Regions from separate parts of the Homo sapiens genome. Here all the other regions are linked to region 3. Evidence: promoter capture Hi-C in human tissues and cell types (Jung and others, 2019). All regions are on one chromosome and are shown on one strand. Each heading gives the region's core, a stretch centred on a gene start or on the middle of the fragment in contact. The rest is flanking DNA. Distances are from core to core; before and after follow the strand shown.

Region 1 (3,819 bases), core at 769-3,268, 330 kb before region 3:
ATGCAGATTCTCATTCAATGTCTGGGGTGGGGCTTGAGATTCTGCATGTGTAACAGGTTCCCAGGTGATGCTGCTGTTGCTGGTGGTCTGAGTAACAAGGAGGTAGGTCTTCCCCTCCCTTCTCAGTTCTCAAACTTGCATGATCATAGGACTCACAAAAGGAACTTGTCAAAAATGGATCTGAAGGCCGTTCCCTTGAGATCTAGATTGGGGCCCAGCATGTACTAATGTGTACTTAGAGCAAGCATCTCAGGAGATGGTTAGGCTCAGGCATGCAAGGCTGTGGTACCCATTTATATCATGGTCCATGGCGTAGACAACACAGAAGATTGGCTCACTAGACCTCTGTCCCAGTGCACCTTCCAGGAAAGGTGGGAAGAGGGAATAAAGACATCTCCCCAATATTCCATGCCAGTACCATTTGAGAGGCCATGTAGGTTCCAACAACCAGACGCATTCAATTGAGCCTTGAACTTGGATGAGCTAGCTGAGTGGTGTCCAGATGGCAGTGTGAAGGACATCTACTTTTTGGTGCAGATATAGGCAGCTGCTGTGTGGCTCTGGAGTTCCTAATCCCCAGATTGTAGCAATGATGATGTGATCCTGCTGCTCTCTGGACCATTACCTTTTTGGTTACAAAAGGTAAATTTCTGTTTACTGCAGCTGAATCCCAGGACTAATGCGTCAGCAGCATCCTCTCACTACCTTGTCCCTCTAAACCCACTGTGACTCTCACAACATCCACCTTAGGTGGCTCATCTGGAACGCAGCTGTTCAAATGGGCATCCAGTGACCTCTATTGCACTGCACCATCAGCCTCACGTTCCTCCAAGCAAGGGCTGGGCCTTCCACTTCGCACCTCCCATGGGCACTACCACTCGTGAGGTGTTCAAACCTCCTGTCATTGTTGCTGGGTCTGTCCTCAGTCAGCTAGGCCTTGCCACCCCTCACTGCCTACCATCCTACCTGCCACCCTTGCCTTTTGACCCACCCTCCAGGACAGATTCAGGGCCAAGTACGGCCGCAGTGACTTGGTCCATGTGTCCTGGGGTTAATGCAGTGACGCATTAGTCCTGGGGTTCAGATGCAGTAAACAGAAATTTACCTTTTGTAACCAAAAAGGTTACGGTCCAGAGAGCAGCAGGATCACATCATCATTGCTACAATCTGGGGATTAGGAACTCCAGAGCCACACAGCAGCTGCCTGTATCTGTGCCTTGTGGTATCCCAAGGGCAATAAAGGGCTGGGGACTTGGATGTCTGTCCTTGAATATCTCCTTTGGTGCAAAAAGTCAATAGTGGTTTATACACATGCAAGTTTTATGACAGAAACAGCTGGGGATATACATGTGGGGAATCTTCCCTTGCCCTGGTGGTGCCTTATTGGAAATGTACAGAAGTAGACAAATTTAGGTGACAAAGAATACTAACTGCTCCATAGATTCTAATATTCCTCCTGTGAAGAGAGGCATGGATCATTAATAGAATGTTATTAACAACAGTAGAAAGGGAGGCCATAGGAGAAACTAGGTTCCAAAGAGTGAGGCTGCGTGGAACTTGCTACCTATTTTCTAACTACATGTCAACAACCACTGACCATCCAGCACAGGAACACCATCGCCACTGTGAGCACAATACATTCTTGGAGTTTCAGTCTCAAGAGACTCATGACTTCACAACGGAGGTTGACAGACACTTATGACTGAGGAGATGAATGCAGTAAGAAACACTGCTAACTCTAAGAATTGGGGAAGAGACAAGCCAAGGAAGAGGAGGTGTGATGTGGGGGCTGCTGGTACATCATAGAAATGGTCCGAAATGGTCTATGGCACTTCACCACCAAAAGACAATTTAGAACCAGATCTTTATTCTACTTGTAATTCACTGGATAAACAAAGAAATTTCAAACCAAACCAAAGTGATGATCTGAATCTCATTAGACCTGAAGGTCATGAGAACTTTCTCTAGAGACAAAACCTGCCCTGTATCACATCCAGCCTAGAACCATCCCCAAAAGTCAAATCAACTGCTCTGCAGCTCACCAGCCATGTTCATCCCAAGGTGGTGATTATCAAAACCACAGATTGCTCCCCAAGGGGGACTGACTCTGGTCTCTGCCTTGCTTGGTGTAGGTCAAAATTCTTTTTTAAAAAATGGAAGAGAAGACCACAATGAGATGCTACTTCACGCTAACTAGGATGGCCATAAGCATGAAAAATAACAAGAGTTGGTGAAGATGTGGGGAAACTGGAACCCTCATAAATTACCAGTGGAAATGTAAAATGGTGCAGCTTCCGTGGAAAACAGTCTGACAATTCCTCACAAAGTAGAATATAGAGCTACCATGTGAACCAGCAATTCCACTCCTTGGTATATACCCAAATGAACTGAAAACATCTGAAACTCAAACAACTGAAAACTCAAAAACTGGTACACAAATGTTCTTGGCTGCATTACTCATAATAGCCTTTTTGTAGAAACAACCCAACTGTCCATCAACTGATAAAAGGATAAGCAAAATGTGATATATCCATACCATGGATACATGCTACAGCATGAATGAATCTTGAAAACATCACATGAAATGAAAGAAGCCAGACACAAAAGGCCATAATACTGAGTGATTCCACTTATGAGAACTGTCCAGAAAAAAAAAAAAAATCTTTAGAGACAGATGTTAGTGGTTGCCTGGGGCTGGGAGCAAGGGAATGGGGAGTCATGCCAATGGGTGTGTGGTTTCTTTTTGAGGTGGTGAAAATGTTCAGGAATTAGAAATGGTGGTGGATGTGCAACACTGTGAACATACTAAATCCACTGAATTGTATACTTTAAACAGGTATGTAAATTATGGGTATGTAAATTATATCTCAATAAAGCTGCTATTTAAAAAAGGAGGAACAGGTCACTTAGTGCTGATGTTTATTGTTAAGGCTCCAATCTTTTGGGTTCTACAAAATATACACCTGAAACACTCCAACTTGCTCCTTGATGATTACTCATGACTGGAAGGAGGGAAGTGGCCCAGATCAAAATAAGCACCATAAGCTTGACCAGGAAGTTCCTAAAGGCTCTATTCACTTCCTCCCATAGAACACCTAAGACAATGACTGTGTTTCTCAGTGTCCTTGATGCAAGGAAACTCACAAAAAAAATGGCCAATTCTGAAGGTGAATCACAATTTTGTTTTCAGAAAACAGAATTTTGTATATAACTATCTTTTCGGACTTTGCTGCTAGAAAATCTAAGTGGCAAATTTATTGTTTAAATTTTATCTTTTCCTCACATCAAGGTCCTAAAAGTTATCTACCTTCCCTGCTTCTATCTGATGGTCTCTATCATCCTTTAAATACTTCCTTTTATAATAAAGGATGTCTTTATGAGCAAACTGCTCTAAGTCCTTTTGGTTGCAAGAATGGTCCAATTCCAAAACAAAGACTAACACTCCTCCCATTTGCCATCTCTCAAAGGTTATGAGTAATGATTGAATCTGCACCTCTGCCTGATCTCTGGGTCTTTCTCCAAAGCAGAGATGTTCTAAAGGTTTCAAGGTGGTTGGCTTCCCTGACTCTGGGGTGTTTTACTAAATCACTGCTTGCCATGGGGACTGACAGAAATACCCAGGGAGCCACGCATGCTAGCCTCCCCACCCAGGCCCAGCTTCCATCTGAGACTGACCCTGGGCCTAGGCATCAGTTTAGTTTTCATCTACCTGTTCTCAGGCTAAGCAGATAGGCAATCTGAGGCTACAGAAAACAGCCTGGCAGATACCTCAGAAGAGCTACAGTAGCTTGCTTACCTACAGGTAAATAATAGGTCCTA
Region 2 (3,551 bases), core at 606-3,105, 440 kb before region 3:
ACACACGCAGACACACACAGGCACACACACACACAGATACATACACAGACACATCGGCACAGACAGACACACAGGCACACACACGGACACACACACTGACACACACAGATACACAGACACACAGGCACAGACACACACAGGCACACATACACAGGCACACACAGAGACAGACACTGACACACACACACACAGACACACGACACACACAGATACACACACAGACACACAGGCACAGACAGACACACAGGCACACACATGGACACACACGGACACACACAGATACACAGACACACAGGCACAGACACACACACACAGGCACACATACACAGACACACACAGAGACAGACACTGACACACACACACAGACACACGACACACACACAGATACACACACAGACACACATGCACAGACAGACACACAGGCACACACACGGACACACATACAGATACACAGGCACAGACAGACACACACACAGGCATACACATGGACACACACACAGGCACACATACACAGACACACAGACACAGACATACACACACATAGACACAGACACACACAGACACAGGCACATACACATACACACACAGAGTATGAAACTCCCACATGGCCTCTAGTCCCAAGGAGTCCCTCAACCCAGGATTCCATCTGATAGGGACACCAAAGCTTCTTGTCATTTACTCAACATTTTTCTAGAATGTTTCTGTGTACCTGGTTTGTGCTGGGTACGGGGGTTCAGAGACAAATCAAACAATCCTTGCCCCAGGAAATTATTTCTAGCAGCCGTGGTATAGCCTTCCCCAAATTCAACCTAAACATTTCGCCACATGCCCCTAATATCCCAGCCAGATTCCCTTTCCAGGATCCCTTGGAGTCCTTCCTCCTGGGCCTGATTTTGTTTCTACCCTTGCCACCTCTTGGGAGAAAGCCTTCAATTAGTTCACAACTCCAGCAGAAGTCTGTCTTTTATCTGTGCAAAACAGACATCCAAGCCGAACCCCAACTGATTTCTAATAATTGACCAACGAGATCTGAGTCAAGTCTTCACAGAATCGCAAAAATTCTGGACAGGAAAGAATCTGAAGGTTTCAAAGCCCAACATCCATCTGACTGAAGTTCTGTTTCTCGGAATAACATTCCTGTTCTGCAGTCACCCGGACCCAGTTTGAATACCTCCAGTGAGGAGGGAGCTCACTGCCAAATGAAGATGTGTTGGCACTTTGGGAAAGTAGGGAAGTTATAAAGTGATTCCTATACAACACGGATGAAAGGGTACTGGCATTTATTAAGCACCTACTGTGTTTAATAAATAAAGCCCCTGGGCTAGGTAGGGGCTTTACACATAGAAGATTTCTAATCTAGTTTAATTCTCATGCCAGCTTTGCTGTCAGGAGGCCTACGTTATGATTATGATGCCCATTTTTACTATTGAGGTACTAAGGGTCAGATAAATTAAGTGACTTGCCCAGTCACAAAGTCAGTCCACGGCAGAGACGGAGACAGCAGTCCAAGTGTATCCAACTCCAACCTGCGCTCTCTGTTCCCAACCACTCAGAGAGCAGGGCAAGGGGGCCAGTGCTGCCTAGGCTTGGATCCTGGGCTTTTTCATCTGGATGGCTGGCCTCAGGGATTCCTTACAAAACTGACCTCTACCAGGCCTAACAACCTCTGAGGGCTTCTCTCTCAAACACACGGCCCCAGAGTGAGGAGCCCCCCTCCTGTGGAGGGGGAAGGGGCTCTCCAGAAGGAAGCCACAGACAGTTGGCTCAAATGGTCTACAGCTCCAATCTGGGCCCTGCGTGCCACCCAGGGAGGGCTGGTCTCTGCAGTCAGGGAACAGGAGGGTGTGGAGGGGTCAGGTCCTCTCCATCCTCTGAGAGCACAGAGCTTAGGCTGGTGACTAAGAGCCTGGGCTCTGTGAAGGAGCTGTGGGAGTTGGAAGTGGGTCCCCTGAAAGACAGTGTTTGAGCTGGGCCTTGAGACAGATCTGAACATGAGGAGATAGCAGTAGTAGTAGGAAGAAAATTTCAGGCAGAGGAAACAGGGCAAGTAAAAGTAATTGAGGTAGAAAGGAATGGCAGGGAGGAAATACTGCTGACTTGGGGTAGAACACGTCCAAGGGTCACTCAGGGACTTTTCTGAAGTCATAAACTATCAAAATGTCCTTCTCTAGCTCTTAGACCACCTCACTCCTATCAGGTCCAGGGCTAGCAACCTTGGTGTAAGAGCCCAGCTAAGCTTTGAGGAGGAAGGAATGCCCATTCACAGGCCTAAGAGAACAGAAATGGGGAGAGGAAGAGAATGAGAAAGCAAAATGAGGGGCAGGGAGAGTTTGGGCCCTGGAATCAGGTATTTGGTAGCTCAGCCACCATGTAACAGCTGTGGGCCATGGACAAATTGCTTAAATTTCCTATAACTCAGCTTCCTTTTCTATAATAATGCTTTCCTTACCTGGGCTGTCAGGAAGATGCTATAAGGTCACATATCCCCTGTGCCCGACATGTAGTGTAGCTGTTTTCATTAACCTGGACAAGAGTCGGGACTTAGAGGGTCAGAAAAGCAATCGAGGCCCATAGAGACAGGAGGAAGCAGTGTTCGTGGGGACATCTGCTATATACCAGGCTCTTTCCCACAGGGGACCACAACAGATCATCCCGTCTCCTCTCAGGCAGGAATAATCGATTTCTCTTTGGCAGATGAGAAAATGGCCCAGGGGGTAACACAATTTGTCTGAAGTCCCAGGCTAACAAGTGGCAGAACTGGAAATGAGCCAGGCCTGGCTCTGAGGAAGCGAGTGGCTCCCAGAAGGCCCAGGGTGGCTTAAATGGATGGAGCTGTGGCTCCTCCCCCTTTGGCTCTGAGCCCCAAAAGTGAGGCAGGTGGCCACTGCCAGAAGACGTAGTTTGCCTCATGACACTTGCCTCACAGAAGAGGTGATGTTTAGCGCACCCCTTCTCCCTCTGGGGCTGCACGTCCAAAGTCCGCCACTTCTGAAAGGGAGGCTGGAAGGGAGGCGAATCTTACAATGCATACAGAGGGGATGTGTGGGAAGCAAGACGGGGGAGGTGGTGCCAAACTGGCTGCCTAATGAGGCTTTGGGAAAGACGCAGGACCCAGGATTTACTGTACCTCTGCTTCCACCATTTTAAAAGCCAGAAAGGACAGGGAGCTGCCCTTTGCTGAAGGGCACCAGACCGATGGCCTAGCCAGACTAGAGAGCTCAGTGTCCTCAGACTCACAGTCCTTACACAGTCCTCTTCCGCTCCCTTCCCGAGTGCCAGCCTTTAGATCCTTTCTAGTTCCTCCTCTTCCTCCGGGAAGCCTTCTCAGATAGTCTCAACCTACAGCTATTCTTTCTCCTGGGAATGCCAGCAGCACCCACTGCTTGCCTCATCTGTGACCAGCCCTATACTAGGATTCCAGATCTTCTGGGTTACAGCTGTCAAGCACAGCCTTTCCAAACTCCATCCTATGGCAAGAATTCCTCCTAGAACATCCAGCCCTATGTGAGCAGCCCAGAGATGAGGTGCCAGCTCTCAAAACACATTGTTTT
Region 3 (3,572 bases), core at 64-2,563:
TCAGCCCCTGCCTTGCATCACAGTGGGAGAAGATGATACATTTGCTAATAAGTAAAAAAACCAAAACATGCAAGAACCAGAGCAGGGCTTATGAAGTCAATAAATAATATTTGTTGAAAGAATAAAAGAAAGCCTTGTTTTCTTTCTGAGTCCTCGGAGATCCTGTCCCCCAAAGCCAGGGGCAGGCTCCAGAGGAGAGAGGATATGTAACTCCCTTATGAAGAGATTGAAGACTCTCAAAATGCATGATTCTGTGTGTCAAGGATTCTAAGATTGAAGCCAGAGGGACTAGGAGCTAACCACTGCATTGTCTGACTGTGACTTCGAAAAGGGGCTTAACTTCTTAGAACCTCCGTTTCCCCACCTACAAAAGGAGACTGACAATAGCAACCTAGGGGGCAGGGGGTGTCCCCAGGAGACACAGCAGGGTCTGGCCTAGGTCAGCTGCTCCACCTGGGGGGATTCCGGCCCCACTCCCAATTCCAAAGTCTCTGGTGACTAGTGGCTTTGGTTTAGGGACTGGCTCTATTCCCTTCCCCAAACTGGGGATGATTCCCAAGAGGCCAGCAGCGGCTCTGGGGGCTGGAGAATCTGCTGCCCCTGCATCCAGCCCAGAAATGTCAGTCCCGTCCGATCCCCAAAGAGTGGTCCTCTGTCCCCGTAGACAGAAAGGCGCCAAATGAGCCGAGTCCAACCCCGGACTGCGGAGAAGGAAAGACAGACGCCCAAAGGGGGTATCCCGAGGACAGTGTGGGGCGCGGGGATATGTGATCCAGCCAGGGGTCTACAGGTCCCTGCCGATAAAACGCTGGGAAAATGACTACCAGTTGCCCGTCTGGGCCTCTCAAGGCAAGTCCAGATGTGACTAGACTAGGGGGCTGCGAGGTGGGGCAGAAAGACTTGAACTGGATTCTCCGCCAGAGCTCGCCGGGCCGGGACACTTGCCTCTCTGAGCCTCAGAGTCCTCATCTGTGAAATGACACGCAGGTACGACGCGGGGAGAAAGCAGACAGCAGACGCTCGGGGAACGGGGCCCCCAGACCCGGGGTCGCACCCGGACCCACCCGCGCCCTCACCTGGAGCCCGCGCTAGGCGTGTCCCGGCTCCTCTCGCGCAGGCTTTGGAGAGGCTGACAGCTCGGACCCGGGCCGGTAGTGGCCGCTCCCAACGACGCCCAGGAGGCCCCAGCCCCGCGTGGGCACCTTTGGGGTCCCCTTTGGAGCTGCCCTCCGCGGTCGAGCTGAGCGGGTGGCCCTCACTGTCGAAGGCCCCCACCGCAGGGAAAGTCCCTGGGGCGCCGTGGAAGGGGAAGTGAGCACGCCGCCCCCCTTCACACCAGAATGGTTCGCCCCGGACTTCCTGATTGGTTCCTCGCTTCCGTTCGAACGGCGCGCCGCCAGGGTTGCCAGGCGACCGCTTAGCTTCCCCCGCCCGAAGGAGAGGCGCTGCTCAGCAGCTCCGCCCGCTCCTCCCAGCCGGCCCCACCTTCTTCCTGCCGCCGCTTCAGCCCCGGCGCCTGGTTCTTTCCCTTCCTCCTCCTCCCTCCCGCGGCCAGCTGGGACTTCCTCTAGGACCCCAGCTGGAAGAGCTCCAGTTAGAGGGCCCTGGCTGGTTCCTAGTCCTGACTTTGACGCTAACTCCCTATGTGACCCGGTGCAAGCCCCTTCCTTTCTCTGTTCTCCTAACTGCATGATGATGAGTGAGTTAATTTTAAAATGTGCATACCCAGCAGTCCCGAAATTTACAAAGGAAATGACCAAAGATATGAGCAAAGATTAATATTGCTCAGCCTTATTCATCATAGCAAAATAATGGAAACAACTTCAATGCCTCTTGAAAGGGATTGGTTATATAATTCCATCCTGTGGAGGAGCTAACTTAATTGAGCTTTTTGCATGCCGGGTAGCTTTACAGAACAAGTCTTGTCAAGGCTTATGACATAACCCTCTAAAAGTACTTTTAATTATTAACACTTTATTTATTTCTTTATCTTTTTCTTTTCTTTTTTTTTTTTTTTTTTTGAGATGGAGTCTCACTCTGTCGCCCAGGCTGGAGTGCAGTGGCAGGATCTCAGCTCACAGCAGCCTCAATCTCCTGGGGTCAAGCAATCTTCCCACCTCAGCCTCCCAAGTAGCTGGGACTACAGGTGTGCACCACCACACCCGGTATTTTCTGTATTTTTTGTAGGGATGGGGTTTTGCCATGTTGCCCAGACTGATCTTAAACTCCTGAGCTCTAGCAATTCTACCAACTCAGCCTCCCAAAGTACTAGGATTACAGGCATGAGCCACGCCACCTAGCCTAATTTTTCCCACTTTCTGATGAGGAATATTATGCAGCCATTAAAAGTGAAGTAGCTACCAGGAGCAGTGGCTCACACCTGTAATCCCAGCACTTTGGGAGGCTGAGGCGACCAGATCACCTGAAGTCAGGAGTTCAAGACCAGCCTGGCCAACGTGGTGAAACCTCGTCTCTACTAAAAATACAAAAATTAGCCAGGCGTGGTGCCACATGCCTGTAATCCCAGCTACTCAGGAGGCTGAGGCAGGAGAATAGATTGAACCTGGGATGTGGGGGATGCAGTAAGCTGAGATCATGCCACTGCACCCCAACCTGGGCAAGAGATCATCTCAAAAAGATAAAAATAAAAGTGAAGTAGCTAGAAGATATTTAAAGATAGGGGGAAATGCTAAGTATTAAACATTGGTTTATTTATGTTTTTTAGAGACAGGGTCTAGCTCTGTTGCCCAGGGTGGAGTGCAGTGGTGCAATCATAGCTCACTGTAACCTAGGTTGAAGCAATCCTCACACCTCAGCCTCCAGAGTAACTAAGACTACAGGCCCGCATCACCATGTCAAGCTACGGGTCTCGCTATGTTGCCCCAGGCCAGTCTAGAACTCCTGGCCTCAAGTGATCCTCCTGCTTTGGCCTCCTGAATTTCTAGGATTACAGGCATAAGCCAATGCACCCCTCCCAAATTTTTTTGAAGTACAGTATGCTTCAAAACACTATGTACAGCATAAATATGTATTAAATACATATGTATATGTGTATAATCATCTATAATCACAGCAGTTAATTTCTTCTTTGTGTTTTTGTGAATTTTCCAAATTTCCAATACTTGAACATGTCAAAAAAGTATATTTTTAGGGGGATTAGAATGAATTAACTCTAAGGGCCTTTAAGGTGAGGAAATTTTATAGCAGTCAGTCTGAATTGCTCAATTTGGAACCAGCTTCTCTGTTTCATTCCAGCTGGTGTCTTTTATTCTTTGTTTGGATTGCCAATAATTGAGAACTTACTGCGTAAACCCCTGGGTGGGCAGGGGAGGGAGCTAATAATATATCAATAGCTAATAATGATTGTACACTCTGGCATGGACACCAACCAAATCAGAGCCAACCACTGTCATAAACAGGGAGTCTGCTGTATCCGTGAGGACCAGCTAAATATCAATCCTGGCCCTGTGCCCTCTGCTACATTGTGTTAGGGCTTTATACACATCATCTCATTGGACTTCATGACTATCTAAGGCGAGAGATCCTGCTATTATTCCCATTATATAGATGAG
Region 4 (3,492 bases), core at 804-3,303, 320 kb before region 3:
TATATGATGGGAACAAAGAACTTGTTTCTTTGGTCAACTGATTGAAAGGAGTTGTGCTCAGGAGCCTCAACTGCACCTGACTGAGATGATTAGATCTTGGTCCTTCAAGCTAATGAGACTTAGATAAGATTTTAGACTGAGTTGATGTAGTAACGGGTTAAGACTCTTGGAAACCTCAGGGGAAGAAAGATATATTTCACATTTGAGAGGTCAGAGAACAGATTGTGGTAGATGGAATTCGATCCCCTCTCAAGACTCCACAACTCCTAATCCCCAGTACCTATGAATGTGATGAGAAAGCAATCCTATTATTGTTTCGTTGTATGGCACAGTTGACCTCAAAAGGGGACATTATCTCGGTGGGCTAATCTAATACATGGGAACCCTTAAAAGCACAGAACATGGATTGTGGAGGAAGAAGAATGCCCAAGAAGAGACTCAACACAGCACTGCTGGCTTTGAAGAGGTGGCAGACACATGAGAAGAAATGCAGAAGGTCTTATGGAGCTGAGGGAGAGGGATACGGACCTTAGTCTTATAACCGCAAGGAACTGAATTCTGCCAGTGACCTGAATGAGCCAAGCAAATCCATACTCTTGACCTAGAGAATTATGAGATAATAAGTGGGTGCAGTTTTAAGCTACTCATTTGTGGCAATTTATGATGCACACATATGCTGCAAACACTTTCCTCACTTTACTGGCCTTACACTTTGAGTTCAGTTAGCTTACAGATGTTATGAAGACAATGTTTTTCTAAGTAATTTAGAAGAATAATGAGACTGACTCCAGCATTGGTAAGGATAGGGAAATGACATTGAAACATAGTGAGAATGTCAATTAACACAACTGTTTAGAAAAAGGGCAACTGAGCAATCTGTATCAAAATCTCTATAAACAGGCTTGGTCCTTAATGTAGTAATTCTATAGGAATCTATTCTAAGGAAACATTCAGAGACGTGCTCCAAGTTGCATAAAAGTATGTCTACTGAAGCATTAGTTATGGCAGTCCCAAATCAGAAATGACAGGCTAAAAAAAGAACTTGCATTGTCCTTGAGTTTTCTTCCCTTCATTAAGCCAACCCATCAGCAAGTCCTGTCAGGTATACTTCCAAATATACCCCAGAGCCACCTGCCTTATATACCACCATAGTCTACCACCTACCACCATTATTTCTTGCCTGGCTGCCTGTGTCAGCTTCTTCTCTGGGTCTGTTTTTACTCTTGTCCCTCTATAATCCATCTCTACAAAGGAGCCAGAGGGTTATTTTGTTTTTTAATGTAAACAATATGAAGTCCCTCCCTTGTAAAACCTGTCCAGTGGCTTCCCATTCTCCTGATCTTGGCCCCATGGGTTATATGCATCGGACTGTGCTTACCCCATGGTGTCATCTCCTCTGTTTCTGCTCCACTGCTGTACTGTGTTCAAACCAGTATTTGGAGCAATCCAAGCCAAGTTCATTTCTTTGTTCTTGGAGCAATCCAAGCCAAACTCATTTCTTCTGAAACAACTGCCAATACATGTGTCAAAAGTTGGAAATACTAAGGGCTGAATCCTGCTCCAATGCTCATAAGATGTGTTGCTTTGGGCAAGTCAAGCTCTTGCTGCCTCAGTTTTCTTTTGCATAAAACAGAGATACCAAGAGCATCTACCTCATTCTCTTATGAGGCTTAAAAGATATTGTTTTACATATACTTTACATTTAATGTAACTGCTCAGCCCACAGTAAAAGCTCAATAAATATTAACCATGTTAACACGTCCACTGTCAGAATATGACTGGGATTCTTCAAGAGGAAAAAAAAAAATCCGTGGTTAACCGAGTCCCAACCACGTAACTTTTCAAAACATTGATGGCTCCCATCACCCCATGGATCAAATCCAGCTTCTTAGCACATACTGGCCTTGTGATTTGGCCCTCATGTTCATCTTTTCTCCCTTCACATGCTGACATGAGTGAAACAAAAACTCCCCCACTTCTACAAGATGATTTCATAGCCCCACTGGTACCCATCGTTCCCTCTGCCATAAAAGTCAATTACCCTCAATACCACAGAACTTTTATTGGTCCTTTAAAATTTAGCTCATCAGGCATCATCTCTCTGAAAACTTTCCTTCTATCCTTCAGATTAATCACTCTTTAATGTGCTTCAGCAGATCTCAGACATACTTCTACCATTGTTTTAAAAAGATTTATGATCTGGAATGAAAAGGGCAATTAGCCCCTATCAACTGTGAGCTCCTTGAAGGCTGGGTCCACACCTCATGACATATTCCCAGTAAGTGGCACATGATGGACACTTAGATTGATTTGGGCATAAGACTCAAGTCCAAATTCTGGCCTCACCATTTCACAGATGTGTGACCCAGGGCAAGTTAGAAAATCTCCAAGCTCTAGCTTTCTCTTGTGTAAAATACAGACAATAGTATCTATTTCACAGGGTTGTTATACATATTAAATGAGAATGCTTACAAAAGTGTAGTGCCTGAGTCCCATAAGTAGAATTCAATAATTTACTATTATAACACAACTTTTGCTTCTTACTGTTGTGAAGTTACTTACTGTACATGAACTTCAGCTTCCTTACCTGCAAAATGGGGATAGCCCTTACCAATCTCATGGAATTGTTGAGGGGATTAAATAAGAGCACATGGATTAAATGCCCAGCATTTGTCTAGAATCAATGGCACTGAATAAACAGTAGCTGTATAAATGTTATTGAACTTTGCTATCCACAGGAAAAAACCAAAGGGATATTATGTGACTCCAAGGCGAAAGGAATGAAAACAAATTTTAAGAATAGAGAATAGTTGCACAAGTAATGAAAAATGAAAATTAAATTATTAAAGTAACATAGGTAGAGGATAATCTTTTCAAAATATGGTGCTAGACCAACTGGATATCAATGTGGAAAAATATAAATCTCACACCACACATAAAAAATATTTTAGATGGATTATAGATCTAAACATAAAAGGTAAACCATTAAAGCTTCTAGGAGAAAATATATGAGGATTTCTCCATGACCTTGGCATAAGGCAAAGACTTCTTAAACAAAAATCAAAAGAGCACCAAACATAAAGGGAAAAGCACTGATAAGCTAGATTACATAAAAATTAGGAATGCTTTAACAATAATTAAAAAAAACCATTAATAGGGTAAAAGGGCAAGCTACAGAGGGGAGGAAGACATTTGTAATACATATATTTAATGAAGGACTTAAATTCAGAATATATTATATAAACAATGCCAACAAGTCATAAAAAGACAAGCCAATAGAAAAATGAACAAGAGATTTGATTACCTCTTCACAAAAGATGAAATCCAAATGGCTAGTAAACTTCGAGAAAAAAAAAATTTTAATGTGGCTCATGGACTCCTGTCCCATGAGGTCAAAACTATTCTATCTCAGAAGCTATTTGCTTTTTTTTTGCTGTGTTGACATTTGCACTGACGGTGCAAAAGCAACAGTGGGTGGAACTGCTGATGCCA
Region 5 (3,771 bases), core at 334-2,833, 370 kb before region 3:
TGGTCCTGGGCCCATTTTTTCCTAATTCCTCAGAAAACATTCACTCTGTGTTTTCTCGATTTTAGGGTTTTCCTCCTGCACATATTTCTGGGTATGCGCCTACAAGACCACAGTGGGGTTCCCAGCACGGAGGTGGTGATGAGGCATCCAGGCACCCACAGTTTCAGGGAGCATAAGGAAGACAGCTGCCCAGTGCTGGATGCCTGCTGACTGTGGGAAGCTGCAGTCCCTGCTGCTGGAATTCCCTGGTCCCATGAGAAACCCTACTGGGTCAGCCCTTCCTCTGGGGTGATGACAGGGTTGGGTCCCAGCTGGCCTGTTGCCTGGCAACCCAGAAAGGTCATTTTTGGACAATCCTGTCTGTCTCTCCCCAGGATGAGAGGTGTGTATATTGAGAAACAAACCTCTTCTGAGGTTCCCTGAGCTGCCTCCTCTCTCCTGGCTGGTGTCCCCACACACTTGGGGGCACCCCTCTTTTTTCGGACTTGGAGAAAATACCATAATGAAAGGCATAAGCCTGGCTTCCTGAGCAGCAACCACAGGACCAAGTAACATAACATCGGGTCAGGAGAGTTAGTGCTCCATGGGGGAGGCCCTTGCCAATGGGAAATGAGAGACAGGAACGAGCTGGGCAGATGAATTTCCTCTCGTTCTCTCTCCCCCAATGTGCAGTTCCTCCTTCAACCCCTGCAGAGCATCTCAGCTGCTGAGACACCCACTGGGCCTCCTTAAGGCAACTTCTGAAGCCGTAGGCTGCTTGGTAATACAATGTCTGGCGTAATTGCCTGGCATAGCATTGGCCTCTGCTGCCACACCCTATGTTCCTCCCTATCACCACCCTTGGCTTGTACTTCCAAATAAAGTGCTAGTTTCTCAATCCTTGTCCAAGCCTCTGCTTTCTAGGGGACCCAGGCTAAGACATTGGGTGTACGCATGTCCATCTGGGTCAGGGTTATAATAGCCAGCACCACGGTGCCAAGTATTCATTAAGAGGATTACAAGCATCTCTTCAGTGAATCCTTACAATACCCCATATGATATTGGTACTATTGTTATTCCCATTTTGTGATAAGGAAACTGAGGCTCAAAGAGATAAATCCCCTGCTAGAGCCACACAGAGGACTCAGCACACACGGAGGACTCAGTGTCATTCTAAAACCAGTCTGGCCAGCACCACACCCAGCACCTCCCATATAGGCCACGACCTACTTATCCCTGAACCTGAGATCACAATTGTGCATTGTGTGGTAGGTCCCAGAGGGGAGACTGCAGGGTCCATACCGTAGCCTGCAGCCTCTGCCCCAGGGGGGACCCGGGAAGGAAAACCAGAGATCTTTGGAAAATATGTAGTCGGGGCATCAAGGAAAAGCAATGCAAAACCTTACCAGCTCCTTTCTCAGCCACTCCAAGGTCTGCCCAAGACTCGGGCTGGGCTCTTCTGCTATTTTCATCTCAGTGTTCTTAGGAGTGACCTTGACACTGACCTGGTTCTGGGCCCGAGGGATCTTTGACTTGTACATTCCCCCAACTCTTTCAGACTGGCAGCAGGTTCTGGCCAAATCACTGAAGATGGAGTTAATGAGAGCAGGAAGTAGCTCACATTGAAAAATGTAATCTGGCTTTTTTTTTTTTTTTAAAGGGCTTTAGTGCTCTGAACAGAACAAGGAGGAAGGGAGGGAGACCATTATGGGTCCGAGTACCTTGGAGCCTGCTGTTCCAGAAGCCAAGAATATGTGATGCCAACAGGATCACAGAGAATGCAAAGCTTTAAATGGCAACAATATGGTTATTATGAAAATAGGCACTCTTTTCTAAGGGTTTGCTTTGTGCTTTACATATAAACTATGTATATGTCTCATTTGGCATATACCTCCACGGGTGTCCCAAGTCCCTGTCCTCATTTACTTATCTATAGAGTCCAGATAAAGGAAATGCTCACTTTCCAAGTTTCCTTGTTTCTGGAATCCCCATGTGACCCATTTCCAGCAAATGAGATCAAAGCAGCAATTTGCTGTTAGGCTTCCAGAAAAACTTTTACCTTCCTAACAAAAGGGAAAATGTCACTGCTGCTTCCCTTTTACTCCTACTTTCTCCCTTTTCCTTCTGCCTTGAATGTGGATGTAATGTCTGGAGCTATGGTAACTGTCTTGCGACCATAAGACAAAGCCCAAGAAAATCACAGAGCCATTAGAAATCATTGCACCCCTGACTCGGCAACAGCATCTATATGAGAAAACAGACCCGATGTCTAATGGAACACTCTGCTACTTGCAGGCAAACACAGTCCTGACACACCATTTATTCTTCCCATTGTTATAGGAAAGGGGTCCCAACCCAGACCCCAAGGGAGGGTTCTTGGATCTCATGCAATAAAGAATTCAGGGGGAGTCCATACAGTAAAATGAAAGCAAGTTTATTAGGAAAGTAAAGGAATAAAAGAATGGCTACTCCATAGATAAAGCAGCCTTGAGGGCTGCTGGTTGCCCATTTTTATGGTTATTTTTTGATGATCTGCTAAACAAGGGGTAGATTATTCATGTCTCCCCTTTTTAGACCATATAGGGTAACTTCCTGATGTTGTCATCGCATCTGTAACCTGTCATGGCGCTGGTGGGAGTGTAGCAGTGAGGATGACCAGAGGTCACTCTTGTGGCCATCTTGGTTTTGGTGAGATTTAGCCACTTTCTTTACTGCAATTGTTTTATCAGCAAGGTCTTTACGACCTGTATCTTGTGTTGATCTCATCCTGTGACTTAGAATGCCTTAACCATCTGGGAATGCAGCCCAGTGGGTCTCATCCTCATTTTACCCAGCCCCTATTCAAGATGGAGTTACTCTGGTTCAAATGCCACTGACATCATCACACCGTGAAGCAGGTATTCAATTCTCTCTTTCGCTAAACACTTATTGAATGTCTACTGTGTGCCGAGTTCTGCTCTAGACACTGGGGTTATCAACCAAAATCAGAGAAACAAAGGCCCTGCTTTCCTGGAGCTGACATCCTAGTAGTCATTGGAAACAAACAATCAAATTAATGCTACGATGAAAATATGTAGACTCTATTCTCACATAGGTCTTTTAAAATATAAATTTATTGGGCAGGCGTGATGGCTCACGCCTGTAATACCAGCACTTTGGGAGGCCGAGGTGGGCGGATCACCTGAGGCCAGGAGTTCGAGACCAGCCTGGCTAAACATGGTGAAACCCCGTCTCTACTAAAAATACAAAAATTAGCCGGGTGTGGTTGTGGGCGCCTGTAATCCCAGCTACTCAGGAGGCTGGAGCAGGAGAATTTCTTGAACCCAGGAGGCGGAGGTTGCAGTGAACTGAGACTGCAAATGTATATATATAAATTTATTCTATTCACATGCACTAGAAACTCCAAACCAAGAATTAGCATAGTGACCCCAGATAAAGATGTGAAATGACTGGCAAAGCAAACTCAGCCGAGTTTAGGGAAACTTGCCCTCAATCTGGCTACACAAAATATCCTCAGATAGAGCTCCCCTGAAGATGAACTCATATAAGAACACACAAGGAAGCCATTCACCATAAATGAGAGTCAACAGACACCATTCACCCCCTTCCCCCAAGAACTTCAGATGAAGATAATTAAAAGTATTTTGAGGCCAGGTATGGTGGCTCACACCTGTAATCCGAACATTTTGAGAGGCCAATGCAGGAGGACTACTTGAGGCCAGGAGTTTGAGACCAGCCTGGGCAACATAGCAAGACCCCTTATCTAAACAAAATAAAATACAATAATTAGCC
Region 6 (3,686 bases), core at 180-2,679, 430 kb after region 3:
CCCTTTCTCCGGGAGGGGTTCTCTAATATTCCCCACTCCTCCTCACACTAGGCTCATTTGGTTGTTTGTCCTTCCCATTCCCAGGGTCCCTCATATTTCTATTCATTTATCCAACAAGCAGTTATTGAGCTTCTACTGTGTGCCACCCACTGTCCCAGGAACTGGAATCCCACAGAGATTTATAAACAGGGCCCCTCTCCTTATGGATCTCCCTGCCCAGTGGGGAGACAATGAACAAGTTTAACAAGAAAAAAAAAAAAAGTCAGATTGCGATCCTTGCTGGCAGGGAAATAAACAGGTTAAGGAGACCAGGGGAGGCCTCTGGGAGGGGGTAACACTGAAGCTAAGACCTGAAGGAGGAGAAGCTGCACGTGTCAAGCTCCAGTGGGGAAGAGTGGTCCAGGTGGAAGGAAGAGTAAGGGCCTTGGCCAAAAAATGGTTGGATGAGAACCGAAGGAAGCCAGTGGGGCTCCAGTAGAGTGAGCATGGCGGGGTGACTGAGGACAGATATCCTGTGGGCCACCCAGGGCCTCTGGGTTTTGTTTGGAGAACACAGAGGGGCATGGGAGGGTTTCCAGCAAGGCAGTGACTGACTTCCGTTCTACAACCCTAGGTGCAGGGGACAAGAGAAGAGGCAAGTACCCCTGCTTCTCAGGTCAACTGACGTCTGTCTCCCACCAGCCCAGGAGGTCTCCAAGTTCAATGCCCTGTGTCCTCTGCGAGTCCCCTAGCCCCATCTCAGCACAGAGCCAGCCCAAGGAGTTCTCAGGGCCCCAAGATGGCTCTGGAAGCCAGCAGGTACCAAAGGAGGAAACTGATGGGGAGGAGGGTAGAGGGAGGGCAGGCTAAAGCCCCCTCTCCAAGGCCCTTCTGGCCAGGGGCAAGGCCAGGTCCTGCGGGGCCCACTTCCCACCGGAAGTTCCCCAGCCACCTCCAGCCTGTGCCCACCTTTCTTGGTCTTCTCGTCCATCTGGCGTGGCTGTGCCCATCCCCCTGGGGGGGACCGTGCCTCCTGGGAAATGCTACCTCCGGGTCGCCTGGGAGAGGCGGGAGACCAGGAGCAACTCAGCCAGGCCGTGTGGCCTCCGGCGCGGCCCAAGCCCTGTGTGTGCCTCGCTGTCCCCGCGGCAGTCGGGAAGCATCACACTGCCCGGTGACCAGGCCGGGATCCTGCGTGGGGCGGTGAGAGGGCAGCGGGCGCCGAGACAGGTCCGCACTGGGCGCAGGAGGAAACGGGACCAGCCGAGGTGGGAAGAAGCGGGGAAAGGACGCCCGGACACCACCCAGCCGGGGCGTTCCAAGTCCCGGAGGACCCCCACTTGCGGGAGCGCCCCTGGCGTCCCGGGTTTCAAGGCAAAGCCCTCTCTCCTCCCGGGAGGCCCCAGTTCTTCGCAAGGGGAGCGGCTTCGGCGGAAGAGAAAGTGAAAGTGGCGGCCCCGGAAGTGGGGCGGGACTGGGAGGGGGGGCCGGAAAAATTGTCGCCTCATCCGGGACCTCCACTGCCCGGCTACCCGGCGGCGGCGGACGCCGAGTGCGGGGTCCCAGCGGTCCCGGCGCTCCTGTTTGGGGCGACCCCACCCCGTCCTCCGGGGCTGATCGCGGGTCCCCGGACTCCCGCCCGGGTCACCCTGCGGGCCGCATCGCAGAGCCGCGGGAAGGAGCTGGGCCGCAGGCGGGGTGGGCGGGGCCGGGGCGGGGCCGGGGGCGGGGCCGGGGGGGCCGGGGGCTGGGGGCGGGGCCGGGGTGGGCCGGGGGCCGGGGCCGGGGCCGGGGGCGGGGCCGGGGGCAGGAGCAGGAGCCTGAGCAGGAGTCGGCGCCGGAGCCGGGGCTGGAGGGCGGCGGGATCCACAGCGTCGAGCCGCTGGGGACGGGTTAGGAGCGCGCCCTGCGAGCCCGGCGCCTGCTCACCCAAGCCTCAGGCATACCTCGGGGCAGGCCCGGTCCTTGGCCCCGTTTGCACATGAATAAACGAAGGCTCTGTTTGTTGATGACCTGTCCAAGGCCACTCAGCCGAGGTTTGAATCCAGGCCTGGCAGGCTCAGGAACCCGCCCTTACCCAGATCCGACGCTGCCTCTCAGCGGTCACCGTCTGTCTTTTCGTTGAGCTATTGGTGAAGTTTGCATTCGTCTGCCTCATGCGCCGCTTTAATTTTTCTCCCGTTCCTCGTCCCATCGATCAGCAGATCCTGCGGGCTCCACTTGCAGAATCTCATCCCTCACCTCCTCCGGCCCCATCCCGCTCCAGCTCCATCAGTGCTCCATCATCTCAGGGGTCTTGAACCAGCCTCCTCCTGGGCCTCCTTGCTTCTCTTTTTGCCCCCTACCGTCCATTTCCACCTAGCTGCCGGAGAGTCCTGTTAAAATGTAAATCAAACCCATGCCACTCCCCGACCCAAGTACTCCCATCTCACTTAAAGCAAAATCCGAGATCTGTCCCAGGGCTCGCAAATTGCCTCCCGATCTCTGTCTTCGTAGCTGACTGCCCTGCCCCTGCCTCATTCCACTCAAGTCCCATTGACCTGCTGGGTCCTGGAGTAAGTCAGACACACTCCCGCCCTAAGGCCTTTGCACCTGCCATAACCCAAACGTCTGCATGGCTCCCTCCTTCCCTTTATTTTGGTCTTTACCCAAAAATCTTCCCTAGTTACTCCATCTGAAATTTCACAGACACACGTATCCAGCATTTCACATCCGCTTTCCTGGCTTCATTTTTTCTTCTCAGCATCTATTACTGTCTAACGGAGCATGTTTTACTTATTTATGTTATTCTGGGTCTGTTTTCCTCTCCTAGAGGGCAGGGACTTTGGTTTGTTTTGCTCACTGCTGTGTTCCTGGTGTCTAGAACAGTTCCAAACACATAATGGAGGCTCCATATGTTGAATGAAGGAATGAACCTCAGACCTTCATCTGGGATAATTTTTCTTTTGCCGGAAACACATCCCTTTAGACAATGTTTCTTAACTTTGGCTGTACATTTGAATGGCCTGGGGAAGCCTTTTTTTTTTTTTTTTTTTTTTTTGAGATGGAGTTTCACTCTTGTTGCCCAGGCTGGAGTGCAGTGGCGTGATCATGGCTCACTACAGCCTCCAACTCCTGGGCTCAGCTTCCCGAGTAGCTGCAAACCACGGGCACGTGCCACCACAGCTGGCTAATTTTTGTAGAGACAGGGTTTGGTCATGTTGCCCAGGCTGGTCTTGAACTCCTGGGCTCAAATGATCTGCCCACCTCGGCCTCCCAAAATGCTGGGAAATGGTTGCTGTTGAGATATCATCACCTGTCAATCTAACTGCTGTTCTTTTTATAAACAGCTTTATTGAGATATCATCACCTGTCAATCTAACTGCTGTTCTTTTTATAAACAGCTTTATTGAGATATAATTTATATGCCATAAAATCCACCCACCTAAAATATACAATTCAATAGTTTTTAGTAACATTTACAGAATTGTACACCCATCATCACAATCAAATTTTAGGACATTTTTGGCTGAGCATGGTGGCTCACACCTACAATCCCAGCACTTTGAGAGGCCGAGGTGGGCGGATCACTTGAGGTCAGGAGTTCGAGACCAGCCTGGCCAACATGGTGAAACCCTGTCTCTACTAAAAATACAAAAATTAGCCAGGTGTGGTGGCGGACATCTGTAATCCTAGCTACTGCAGAGCCTGAGGCATGAGAATGGCTT
Region 7 (3,890 bases), core at 1,344-3,843, 320 kb after region 3:
TTGGGAGGCCAAGGCAGGTGGATCAGTTGAGCTCAGAAATTTGAGACCAGCCTAGGCAATATGGTGAAACCCTGTCTCTACTAAAAATACAAAAATTAGCAGGGCATAGTGACACACTCCTGTGGTCCTAGCTACTTTGGAGGCTGAGGCAGGAGAATCACTTGAACCCAGGAGGCGGAGGTTGCAGTGAGTTGAGATCATGCCCCTGCACTCCAGCGTGGGCACCAGAGGCAGACCCTATCTCGAAAAAAATACATAATATATTTATATATATATGTATATATGTCCTTTCTCCATTGAACTGCCTTTGTACCTTTGTCAAAAATTAATTGGCCTTGTTTGTGTGAGTGTATTTCTGTACTCTTTATTCTGTTCCCTTGATCTATGTATTATCCTTTTGCCAATACACTGTTTTGACAACTATAGCTTTGTAATAAGTTTAAGATCAGTTAGTATAATTCTTCCAGCTTTATTATTTTTCAGAATTGTTTGGATTATTCTGGTTCATTTGGATTTCTTTTTTAATCCAGTCTGATATGATAGTCTTTGTCTTTTACCTGGATAATTTATTCCACTTATATTTAATATAATTAATCATATTCCAATTCAACTTTCTTCCCCTATGCTTCTTATGTTCTAGATTTTTTTCTTCTCCCTTCTTAACATTCTTTTGGATTCTTTTTATGATTTTACTTTTCCCTCTTTCTGGTTTGGAAATATATGCTATTTTTATTCTGTAATTAGTTGTCATACATCTTGTGACTTGCAGCTATAACTTAGCAAAACCTGATATTATAATTTTATCTTCTTTTCATATAATAAAAGACCTTTAGAAAGAATACTTTGAAATCTCCTCAATACACTGTGTTTTTATTGTTATGTATTCTATGTTTTAAAGCTCCTCAAGGTATTGTTATTCTTTTGTATAATCAGTGTTTGTTTGGAGCTGTCTGTAAATTTTCCTCTTTTTTGCTCTTTATTTTTTCTTTCAACTCAGACCTTCCAAAATGGGATTATTTTTCTTTTTTCTTTAGAGACATTTGCTTGATAACAGAATTTTAATTTGGCGGCTATTTATTTTTTTCAGCACACTGCAGGTATTAAACTACTTGGCTTCATTGTTGGTTTTGAAAAATCAGCTGTTCTAATGTTGCTCTTTGAATATAATCTGCCTTTTTCTGTACTTGCTTGTCTTTAGTTTTTTGTTTTTGTTTGAGACAAGGTCTTGCTGTTTTGCCCAGGCTGGCCTCCAACTCCTGGGCACAAGCAATCTTCCTGTATCAGCCTCCCAAATAGCTGGGACTATAGGCCTGTGCCATTACACCCAACTCATCTTTGTTTTTTCCTGCTATTTTGTAATTATATGTTTGGTTTTGGATTTCTTTTTATTGATCTTGTTTGGAAATTGTTTGCTTCTGGAATTTGATTGTGTCTGATTGCTTCTGGGATATTTTCAACTGTCTTCAGTTACTGCCTTTATCCCATTCTCTTTTCTGCTAGTACCAATTAAAAGTATATCAAACTGGCTGGGCACGGTGGCTTACGCCTATAATCACAGCACTTTGGGAGGCCAAGATGGGCGGGTCACTTGAGGTCAGAAGTTCAAGACCAGCCTGGCCAAAACATGGCAAAACCCCCTCACTACTAAAAATACAAAAATTAGCCGGGCATGGTGGCATGCACCTGTAGTCCCAGCTACTCTGGAGGCTGAGGCAGGAGAATCACTTGAACCTGGGAGGCAGAGGTTGCAATGAACTGAGATCGTGCCACTGCACTCTAACCTGGGTGGCAGAACAAGACTTTGTGGCAAAAAAAAAAAAAAAAAAAAGTATATCCAACGATTTCACTATATTTTTCCTCTTGTTTTTTGAGATCTGCTAGGACATTGTATTTAAAAATAAATAATTGGCTGGGTGCGGTGGCTCACACCTGTAATCCCAGCACTTTGGGAGGCCAAGGCGGGTGGATCACGAGGTCAGGAGATCGAGACCGTCCTGGCTAACACGGTGAAACCCCGTCTTTACTTAAAAAAAAAAAAAAAAAAAAAATTAGCCGGGCGTGGTGGCGGACTCCTGTAGTCCCAGCTACTCGGGAGGCTGAGGCAGGAGAATGGCGTGAACCCAGGAAGCAGAGCTTGCAGTGAGCTGAGATCAGGCCACTGTACTCCAGCCTGGGTGACAGAGCGAGACTCTGTCTCAAAAAAATAAAAAATAATAAAAATAAAAATAGATATTTGTAGTGATCATTTGAGGCCCACAGTAAGGTACTTTCCTCCATGGAGAGCTTGCTTATATCAGGTATGCATGGGCACTAATCCAGAGACCACCTTAAAACAAGCTTAAGATATGATATTCCCTTCAGTAGGGCTTTAATTCCTCCCTGGATCTTCCACTCCCTAGTCACTCTCACCATTAGGAAGTATGCCTCTGAAGTCCCACCTTATGAAGAGGGCCTCCTATTAGACTTTTTGTCTTGTGAGAGCCCTGGGCTTTGGTTTATGTGAGAACAAAATTCTAATTTTCAGGATCAACAAAGGCTTTCCAGGCTTCCTTGCTTGCTTATATCTCTGGGTTTGCATTTTCTATTCCCTTTTGGCTATAATTACTTCTCTGTCTTATTTAAAGATGAGTGGGCCAGGTGTGGTGACACATGCCTGTAGCCTCAGTTACTTGGGAGGCTGAGGTGGGAGGATTACTTGAGCCCAGGAATTTGAAGTGGCAGTGAGCTACGATTGTGCCACTGCACTCCAGCTTGGGCAACAAGGAACTGATTAGTGTTGGAAGTAGAGAAAAGAAAATAAAGAGAAAGAATTCCAAAGCTTGTGAATTAATGATACTGTTTGTTTTAAGCACAAAATGGTAACAGTCGAGTAAACTAATAGTCTCCAAATCAGATATAAAAAGGTTGCTGACCTGATGTGCAAAAAAAGCACATCAGGTGCTTTTTTACACCTGATGCCACGTTGCATGTGGCATCCAATGATGTGTTTCTTATAGAAGATAACAAAATGTGCCAGCCTTTGGTCATTTTAGGGTGCAAAATTATAGGTCTTTAAAATTCTTAACTTGCTTTAAAGTGTTACGCTTTGCAATTTCTTGTTTTAATGTTTTCCATCTGAATAATTCCTGTGCGTACTTTAAGTGCAGTTTTTTTTTTCTCTTACAGTTTTTCCCCATTTTAGGTACTCCATAAATATTTGTTGAATGAATGATGGGTTGGTGATAGTTTAAATACCCTTCAACGTCTGTACACCACCATGACTTAATTGTTTCAAGCACTGATCACTTGAGATTGTAATGGTCTGTTTTCTTTGTCTGAGGGCAGAGATACTTTCTCCAGGACCAAGAGAAAGAATGCCTTTCTGGCAGTCAGGCACACATTTCCTGGTACATAGTAAACGTTCAGTAAATGCTTGATGTATGAGCATTCTGCTCTTGATTGGAAAGGAAGAAAGAAATTAAGGTTAAGTATGGACATTTGAAATAAGTAATTCAGGTAACATTAGCTACTTGTGCTTTTTTGTATTAAGTTGGCCTTCTAATCAGTGCCCCTTTTGTAAAGGGAAATGGGCAAGTTTGACTGAATTTTTCTCTTTGCTTCTGTAGCAAGGTAGAAAAGTATACATATTTAAGGTCTCGCTGAGTTCCACAAGTCTTGTTTGTCTCTTACCAGTTTATGTTGCCTGATTGCTTGGAAAAAGAGTTCATTCTCTGCAGCAGTGCATAAAAGGTGTCTTCCTGTATAGCTGCTTTTCCTCTAAACAAGCAGTCCTAAACCATGCAGTCAGTGCAATCTAAGCACATTCCTCATTCTTTGCTATAGAAATCTTTGTCCTGTCGGGATGATGATGAGATCTTGTTCATTTGCTATGGTTCATTTAGGGATGAGAA

The links. Contacts are between HindIII fragments. The study calls those that stand out against the background at their distance.
Region 1: a contact is called between a fragment that was not itself captured here and the fragment with the promoter of FAM110A in region 3, in 1 of the 25 tissues and cell types used here (dorsolateral prefrontal cortex).
Region 2: a fragment that was not itself captured here is called in contact with the fragment with the promoter of FAM110A in region 3 in 1 of the 25 tissues and cell types used here (stomach).
Region 4: a fragment that was not itself captured here is called in contact with the fragment with the promoter of FAM110A in region 3 in 2 of the 25 tissues and cell types used here (dorsolateral prefrontal cortex and lymphoblastoid cells).
Region 5: the fragment with the promoter of C20orf202 here is called in contact with the fragment with the promoter of FAM110A in region 3 in 1 of the 25 tissues and cell types used here (dorsolateral prefrontal cortex).
Region 6: a contact is called between the fragment with the promoter of RBCK1 here and the fragment with the promoter of FAM110A in region 3, in 1 of the 25 tissues and cell types used here (aorta).
Region 7: a contact is called between a fragment that was not itself captured here and the fragment with the promoter of FAM110A in region 3, in 1 of the 25 tissues and cell types used here (stomach).

What each region holds. Positions count from the first base shown.
Region 1 is chr20:1,166,405-1,170,223 of GRCh38, reverse strand. It overlaps PSMF1 (proteasome inhibitor subunit 1), which reads right to left. Exons shown (of 7, transcript NM_006814.5): 7 at 1-3,819. Among named protein-coding and RNA genes, the nearest start is that of TMEM74B, 17 kb to the left of the region's middle. The HindIII fragment of the contact is 6,488 bases long and covers 1-3,819 here.
Region 2 is chr20:1,274,388-1,277,938 of GRCh38, reverse strand. All of the region lies in intron 2 of SNPH (syntaphilin), which reads right to left. Among named protein-coding and RNA genes, the nearest start is that of SNPH, 9.9 kb to the right of the region's middle. RefSeq lists a silencer at 1,868-2,068. The HindIII fragment of the contact is 3,510 bases long and covers 101-3,551 here.
Region 3 is chr20:831,456-835,027 of GRCh38, reverse strand. FAM110A (family with sequence similarity 110 member A) reads right to left here and starts at 1,313. Exons shown (of 2, transcript NM_001042353.3): 1 at 1,077-1,313. RefSeq lists a silencer at 913-1,062. The HindIII fragment of the contact is 14,108 bases long and covers 1-3,572 here.
Region 4 is chr20:1,150,387-1,153,878 of GRCh38, reverse strand. All of the region lies in intron 4 of PSMF1 (proteasome inhibitor subunit 1), which reads right to left. Among named protein-coding and RNA genes, the nearest start is that of TMEM74B, 33 kb to the left of the region's middle. The HindIII fragment of the contact is 7,151 bases long and covers 1-3,492 here.
Region 5 is chr20:1,201,266-1,205,036 of GRCh38, reverse strand. C20orf202 (chromosome 20 open reading frame 202) reads right to left here and starts at 1,583. Exons shown (of 2, transcript NM_001394958.1): 1 at 1,386-1,583. The coding sequence starts at 1,451. The HindIII fragment of the contact is 15,218 bases long and covers 1-3,771 here.
Region 6 is chr20:406,042-409,727 of GRCh38, reverse strand. RBCK1 (RANBP2-type and C3HC4-type zinc finger containing 1) reads right to left here and starts at 1,429. Exons shown (of 12, transcript NM_031229.4): 1 at 949-1,429. The coding sequence starts at 970. RefSeq lists enhancers at 452-521, 532-631, 692-791, 201-841, 842-891 and 1 more and silencers at 1,462-1,731, 3,555-3,686. The HindIII fragment of the contact is 18,382 bases long and covers 1-3,686 here.
Region 7 is chr20:516,872-520,761 of GRCh38, reverse strand. The region is part of intron 2 of CSNK2A1 (casein kinase 2 alpha 1); the gene reads left to right. Among named protein-coding and RNA genes, the nearest start is that of CSNK2A1, 25 kb to the left of the region's middle. The HindIII fragment of the contact is 4,623 bases long and covers 282-3,890 here.